Linked DNA regions of Homo sapiens: region 2 is linked to region 1. The links are contacts of gene promoters, found by promoter capture Hi-C in human tissues and cell types (Jung and others, 2019). All regions are on one chromosome and are shown on one strand. The core of a region is centred on a gene start or on the middle of the fragment in contact, and the rest is flanking DNA. Distances in the headings are between cores, read along the strand shown. Region 1 overlaps LY6E-DT (LY6E divergent transcript). Region 2 holds the start of GPIHBP1 (glycosylphosphatidylinositol anchored high density lipoprotein binding protein 1).

Region 1 (3,202 bases), core at 65-2,564:
CTTCAACAATTCCAATTAGTCTGTTACAGAGTCATCCACAAGCATGCCTTGCTTTTAAACAAAAAAATTTTGAAGCAACAAAACAAAAACTTGTACTAATCACTTTTCTGACAATACGCAATTACTCAAAATTAACTAGTACTGGGAGGGGGAAGAGGGGGCCATACCTATGGACCTTGTCTCACACGAGTGCATGTGGGTAGGTGCAGGACATTTGTCATTATTGCAAAAACGAATTTTAATTTTTAATCTTTAGTTTGAGTTAAACATTGCTTTTAGTATGATGCTGACACCAGCTGTGCAGAAAGGGCTCTGGAGAGATGTTCCTAGCAGCACACACCTGTGGCTCTTCTTCAGTTCTGGAGGCTCCAGGGAAGCCAATATTGCTTCATCAAATACATTCCTTAGGCCTTTCTGTGTGAGTGCAGAACACACCACATACCTGACAGCCTTCAGGTCACGGATCAGCTTTTCAGCAGTCTCTGGAGTGGTGGGCTTCTGTTTGTTCTTGGCAAGTTTCTCAATAGTAGAGGGGTCATCTCTGAGATGAATTAGGGTCCCAACAAGCAAGAAATGAGTCTTTGGACAGTGGTGAGTTATCTTAGACACCCACTTTCCTTTCACATTTTCAAATGAAGATGGAGAGACCACTGAAAAACAGACTGGAAATACATCTGTTTGTAGATAACTCAGCGGTCATAATCTGTCATCATCGTCTTGCCCTGCAGTATCAAAAAGTCCAAGAGTATATGTTTCTCCACCAATCATAACAGTGACTGCATAGTTGTCAAAAACAGTTGGTACATATTTTGATGGAAATTTGTTTGTTGTGTAGGATATCAGGAGACATGTTTTACCAACAGCACCATTGCCCACAAAAACACACTTAATTGTCTGCATTGCTGAAATAAGTTTGTATCCACTTTAAATATTTCAAATCTGATGTTGACCTCAGCTTCTTCACTGGGGCATTAGCAGCACTCTACAGCTTTTCACAACTGGGTAAAGTACCCTCCTGTGAGTAAACTCTGAAGTACATTTCTGTCTACCTGATTTCTGTAGAAATTTGAAAACTATTTGCAAGTATACTTAATTTACGGCAGTATAGTTATTTGCATAAGTTCAATAAGAATGTATTTTCTTTTGTAACAGGACATAATTGGAGACACTGGTTATTTTACCAAAGCTTTGACCGGAAGGATGTACTTTTGGATACAAACAGACTGCTTTAAGGAGTCAAAGCTGACTTATGAAGTTGGCCTCATCCCTTGTCTACACAGTCACTGTACAGAGTTCCTTGCCTGTAGTATGTAAAGAATGTCACTTTCTGACAGGCTCAGGAGCCCCAAATTATCCTGGGACCTTGAGGAGAGGACATTGCCCAATTTATATAGGTATTTTCAGGCACCAATAAATCATGGCTGGGCTCAAGGCTTTAAAAAAAGTCAAATCTGGGATTCGTTATAGAATAAAGTTCCAGCAAAGCCAATTTTAAGACAGGCCTATATGGCAAATAATTATTCGTGCTGACATTATGCAAACACTCAGGCCAAGTATAAGATGAAAAATTATTTTAAATAAATTTGTCCTACTATGATTTGTCTTCAGTAAAAACAGGTACTGGGCTGGGCATGGTGGCTCACAGCTGTAATCCCAGCACACTGGGAGGCCAAGGCAGGCAGATCGCTTGAGGTCAGGAGTTTGAGACCAGCCTGGCCAACATGGTGGTGAAACACCATCTCTACCAAAAAATATAAAAATTAGCCAGGTGTGGTGGCATGTGTCTGTAATCCTAGCTACCCAGGAGGCTGAGGCATGAGAATTGCTTGAACCCAGGAGGTGGAGCTTGCCTGAGTCCTGGTAAGGCACAGACAGAAAGGGTTGTCAGCCATTTTTTTCTGAGGTTATAAGATCTGCAACTTCCCCAGTTATTCCTGCAGATAACACCACTATTGTAGATTGGCTTTTTGAGAAATCTTTTCCAGTGTTTGTGCATGACCGTGGCTCCACCTGGACCCACCTGGACCTGCCAATCCCACTCGTGTGACCCCACCCAGAAGTGACTCAGTCCTTAGGACTCAGCGTTGACCCCCTGTGATTTCATCTCTGCTCTAAGCAATCAGCAGCAAGCACCTATTACCTGGCCTCCCCAACTCCTTCCCCTAAAACTGTCTTTGAACAACCCCTAACCTGTGAGTTTTGCATGAGGTTGTTTGAGTGCTAACTCCATCTCTGTAGCGTGGCCAGCCTTTTGTCTATTAAACTCTTTCCTTATTGCAATGCCATGGTCTTTCTTTATGCAGCAGGCAGGAAGAGCCCCTTCAGTGTTTACAAAGTCTTACCTGCACAGAGAGGTCCCAGAGAGGCTGGCTGGGCACTGGGGATCTGGGGCTACCGTTGTTGATGGTCAATGAGACATGGAGTGGGAGCCTCCCACCCTGACATACCTAAAGAAGACACCACCTCCTATTTGGCAAAAGGTCCTTTCTTCCCACCAGCCTCACACTCCTGGTCCTGACGGCCACCTCCTACCGTGCTAGGGTCCCACACCCTGGGCTTCCTCCACACCAGTCAGTGGTTGGTGTTGGTGGGGAATCTTAGAGTCACCCTCTCAGACTCCCACTGAGGGGGACTGGTCTCCCTGTCCCTGGGGCTAGCCTGGAGCTGGGCCTGCCAGTGGTCACCTGTCTGAGCATGGGTTAGGAGGCTGGGAGGGCTGCCCACCACTCCAGGGCCTGCCTCCAGCTGCCTCCAGTTGCCTCCAGCTGCCTCCAGTTGCCTCCACCCTCAGGCACTCCTGGCCCCATGGTGCTTGAACAGGGCAGGGCAGGCTAGCTGGCTGAGGGCAGGGGGTTCCACGTCAGCGTTCTGAGGACTAAACTCTGGCCCTTTTTTCTTCTTTTGCCCAAATTCCTACCTAAGAGGCCTGGGGAGTGTGCCCTACAGACCGTAGAGTCTCTCAAATGGGTTTTATTTAACCCCACATAACACGGCTGCCTTTCCAGCCTGACTGTGGTGTAGCATCACATGACGGACAAGGAAGGAAATGAGGTATTTTAAATGCATATACGTTTATTTGCCATATCTTGAAGTAGCCGTGCAAAGTTGTCTCTTGTGGGAGAAACATCTACAGTCTGTAGAGAATCCCCTTCTTCTGAGGCCTTTTTCCTGACCCAGGAGAGAATCAGCTAAGGGACTGACA
Region 2 (3,393 bases), core at 72-2,571, 220 kb before region 1:
TGTGGTGGGGCACGCTGTGGTCCCTGGCTAGGGAGGGGCCGGCCCTCGGGTTGGATGCGGCGATTTGCTCTGCTTTTCTCGGGATGGGAGAGAGCAGAGGGTGGCCCACGTGTAGGGGTGTGTCAGGTGGGCAGTGAGGGTGGGCTCTTCTTAGCCCTACTCTGCTCTGCTCTAAGCGGTTCCCTGGCTCCCCAGCCCGCAGCAGCCAATCCAGCCCTCCCCTGTACAGGACCGGCCCACCCTGCTGCTCTCTCTGCCCCACAAAACTGAACCCTACCCTGGGGCCTCTGTGCTTGTGTCTCCACCCTAGGCCCCCACTGAGCCCTTCTCTGCCTGGTGAACTCCTATTTAACCTCTACATCCTGGCACCACTGACCCTCCCAGCTGGTGGCTTCTTCCCCTGTTCCCTACTCTGGAAGGCAACTGAGTGTCATGGTGAGCAGCAGTGAGGGGTGTACTGAGTGTCCCCCACTCTGCTGGAGGCAAGCTCACAGCAGGACTGTGGCCTGCTGGCTTCCATCACACAGCCCCGCCCAGAATGCTCCAGGCAGATCAGGCAGCAGGGCTCTGGGGTTGGGGCGGCCATACCTCTGCTCCTGCCACCAGGGAGCCTGTTGGTCTCCTCCTCTTCCACCTCATCCTCATCTTCCTCGTCGTAGTCATCTGGCCCGTGGTCCTCGTCCTCTTCCTCTTCCTCCTGCTGTGTCTGCCCTCTCCCTGGCCGTGCAGGGATGCTTGTAAGCCTCAGCTACCCGGGTATGGAGGACACCTGCTCTGGGCAAGCATCGTGCCCCCAACTCCTTGGCCCTCCCCAGCCATCCTCGGGCCCCAGGGTGGCTGGGGAGGGCCCCTACCCTGAACACCCTACTCACCCTACTCACTGTCCTGCAGCCTACTCACCCTACTCACTGTCCTACTACCCTACTCACCCTACTCACTGTCCTGCAGCCGAGTGTGCCCTGGCATTGTAGTTACAACAGCAGCTGCTGTGGGCTGGCCCTTTATGGTAGCCCCTCCCCGCACCCCACATAAACAGGGGCGCAGATATTTGGGGACTCTCGGGGACCCAGGCCAGCTTCCATCCATGCTGCTCTGGGCTGGGGACTCCAGCCTCATCCCCTCCTTCTTCCTAAGCCCCTGCTGGGGGTCCCTGGAGGTCCCTGTGCTCCAGGACTGCTGTTGCTGCCCCCTCACCGCAGGGTTACCCTTTGCCCCGCACCTGGCCGCCCGAACAGCAAGAGGGCAAGCAGGACAGCCCCGAGCGCCTTCATCTCGCCGGACGCTGCTGTGTCCCTGACTCTGAGTCCTCCCGCAGGGCTCTGGAGCTGCGGTAAGTGGGATGAAGGGCATTGCCGTGGGCTTCCTAGTGGCCCCCACCAGCTCCAGCCTCAAACAATGGGCCTCACACTGGTCCCCAGCTCCAGGCGCCAGGCCAGGGACTGTTGTTTCCCTCCAGGACATCTGGGGCCAGAGGGGAAGGAGAAGTCATTGTGGTTGGCCTTGGAACGTCCTGTGCACCCGTGCCACGGCAGGTGGAAGGTGGTGCTGGCCCTCGCCTGGCTTGCCGCTCAGTGCCTCAGCCCTGCAGTGCAGGGCAGGGAGCCTCGCCCCGGAATGGGCCATGCCTGACACCCCTCAACCCCATGTCTGGGCTCCATAGTCACAGGACCTTGGGGTCACAGACCCTCTATTTGCTGGTCACTGGCCAAGCATCGTCATCCTAGAGTCAGCATCACACCCAGGCCCCTTTAAGAGCATTTAAGTAAAAACACAGTCAATGCCCTCAAGCTAAGGCTGCGTGCTCACCTCCTCCTCACCCACACTCAGCAATGCACTGCTAGGCCCAAGGCCTCCCGGCTGCCCCTCACTATCACCTCGGGTCTTTGCCCCTGCTGCTCCATCTGCAGTGCTGTTCCTGCTGGTGTCCGGTGGAGAGCTTTCTGGAGCTCTTGGGGGCCCGCCCCCTCGGTCTCTTGCTGGGAAAGCCATCAGCACCCACCTGCCTTCTGGCCTTGTGTGAGAGACGGGCTGCTCTGGGAGAGGCTTGGAAAGCCCAGGTCGCTCCCTGAGGCCACCCCCTCCTCTCAAGACCCCACCCAAGCCCTTGGGGGGTGCTGATGCAGAGTGCAGAGTCGAGGCTCTGAGCTGCCCCTCTCCCAAGGGCAGCAGAGGGGTGGGGCAGCGGCAGGGGCTGGACGTCCGGAGCCAGGGTCAAGCCTGAGCGTCTCTGTGTGCCTTGGTGCTTGGGCCAGGCACTTCACCTACTGAGGCCTCAGTTTCCCCGACTGTCAATGGGTGGGGTGGGGCATTTTCTGGCCGGCCACCTGTAACAGAGGTTGAGTTGGTTCTGGAGTGAGCTACCTGGGTTTAAGACCCGGTTCCTCCTTCCCCCGGCTGTGGGTTCTGGACTAGCCCCTTGGGTTCCCCAGGCCTCAGCTCCCTCATAGGGTGAGGTGACCATCAAGGGTCAGTACCTGCTGGGCTTAGGACAGCGCCTGAGGCTGGGAATACCTGTCTCTAATGTCCCAGCCACCGAGTCAACCATCCTTCCTTAATTCACCTGAACCTGTCATTCTTTCCACTCTACCGGCACCCACCCAGCATCTAGCCCTTCCCCAGCCAAGGCTGCAAGGTCACTTGCCAAGCCAGGGTCTCCCATAGTGGTGCCCACGCCACAGCCGGACACGCCCCGCCAGCCCCAAACTCTTCATACCTGATGCCTGTCCCCCCCAGCCCCGTCCCGCCCCGCCCCGCCCCGCCCTTCCCTGCCCCTCCGCGCGTGGCCCCACCCCCACCCGCCTCCCTGCGCCCTCTCGCCCTCGGCCCGCCTCCCCCACGCCCCGCCTCCCCCACTGCCCCGCCTCCCCCACTGCCCCGCCTCCCCCACTGCCCCGCCTCCCCCCACGCCCCGCCTCCCCCACTGCCCCGCCTCCCCCACTGCCCCGCCTCCCCCCACGCCCCGCCTCCCCCACTGCCCCGCCTCTCTCACGCCCCGCCTCCCCCCACGCCCCGCTTCCCTGGTGCCCCGCCTCCCCCACACCTGTCTACCCCATGCCCCGCCTCCCCCACTGCCCCTACTTCCCGTCGCCCCGCCTCCCCATCGCCCCGCCCCCATTCGCCCCTTCTCCCCAGCGTCCCACCTCCCTGTCGACCCGCCTCTCCTGTGCCCCGCCTCCCCCGTGCACCGCCTCCCGTCATCTTCACCCCTCCTCCCCCACGCCCCGCCTCCCTGTCGCCCCTCTTCCCTGGTGCCCCGCTTTCCTGCTGCCCTACCTCCCCCGCGCCCCGCCCCGGCTACCGCTACAGGCCCTTGAATCTAGTGCTGCAGGAGCTGCTCCTAGGAAGGGCGCTACTGGGATTCTCAAGGGGCCTCCACCTGCCGCCTCCCCTCCA

Evidence for each region. The method cuts DNA at HindIII sites, captures the fragments that hold promoters and counts their contacts. A contact is called where the count stands out against the background at its distance.
Region 2: a contact is called between the fragment with the promoter of GPIHBP1 here and a fragment that was not itself captured in region 1, in 4 of the 25 tissues and cell types used here (adrenal gland, aorta, lymphoblastoid cells and 1 more).

Annotation. Positions count from the first base shown.
Region 1 is chr8:142,993,608-142,996,809 of GRCh38, reverse strand. The region is part of intron 1 of LY6E-DT (LY6E divergent transcript); the gene reads left to right. It also overlaps the pseudogene CDC42P3. Among named protein-coding and RNA genes, the nearest start is that of LY6E-DT, 23 kb to the left of the region's middle. The HindIII fragment of the contact is 9,153 bases long and covers 1-3,202 here.
Region 2 is chr8:143,211,146-143,214,538 of GRCh38, reverse strand. It overlaps GPIHBP1 (glycosylphosphatidylinositol anchored high density lipoprotein binding protein 1), which reads right to left and starts at 1,321. Exons shown (of 4, transcript NM_178172.6): 1 at 1,220-1,321; 2 at 589-717. The coding sequence starts at 1,271. The HindIII fragment of the contact is 48,923 bases long and covers 1-3,393 here.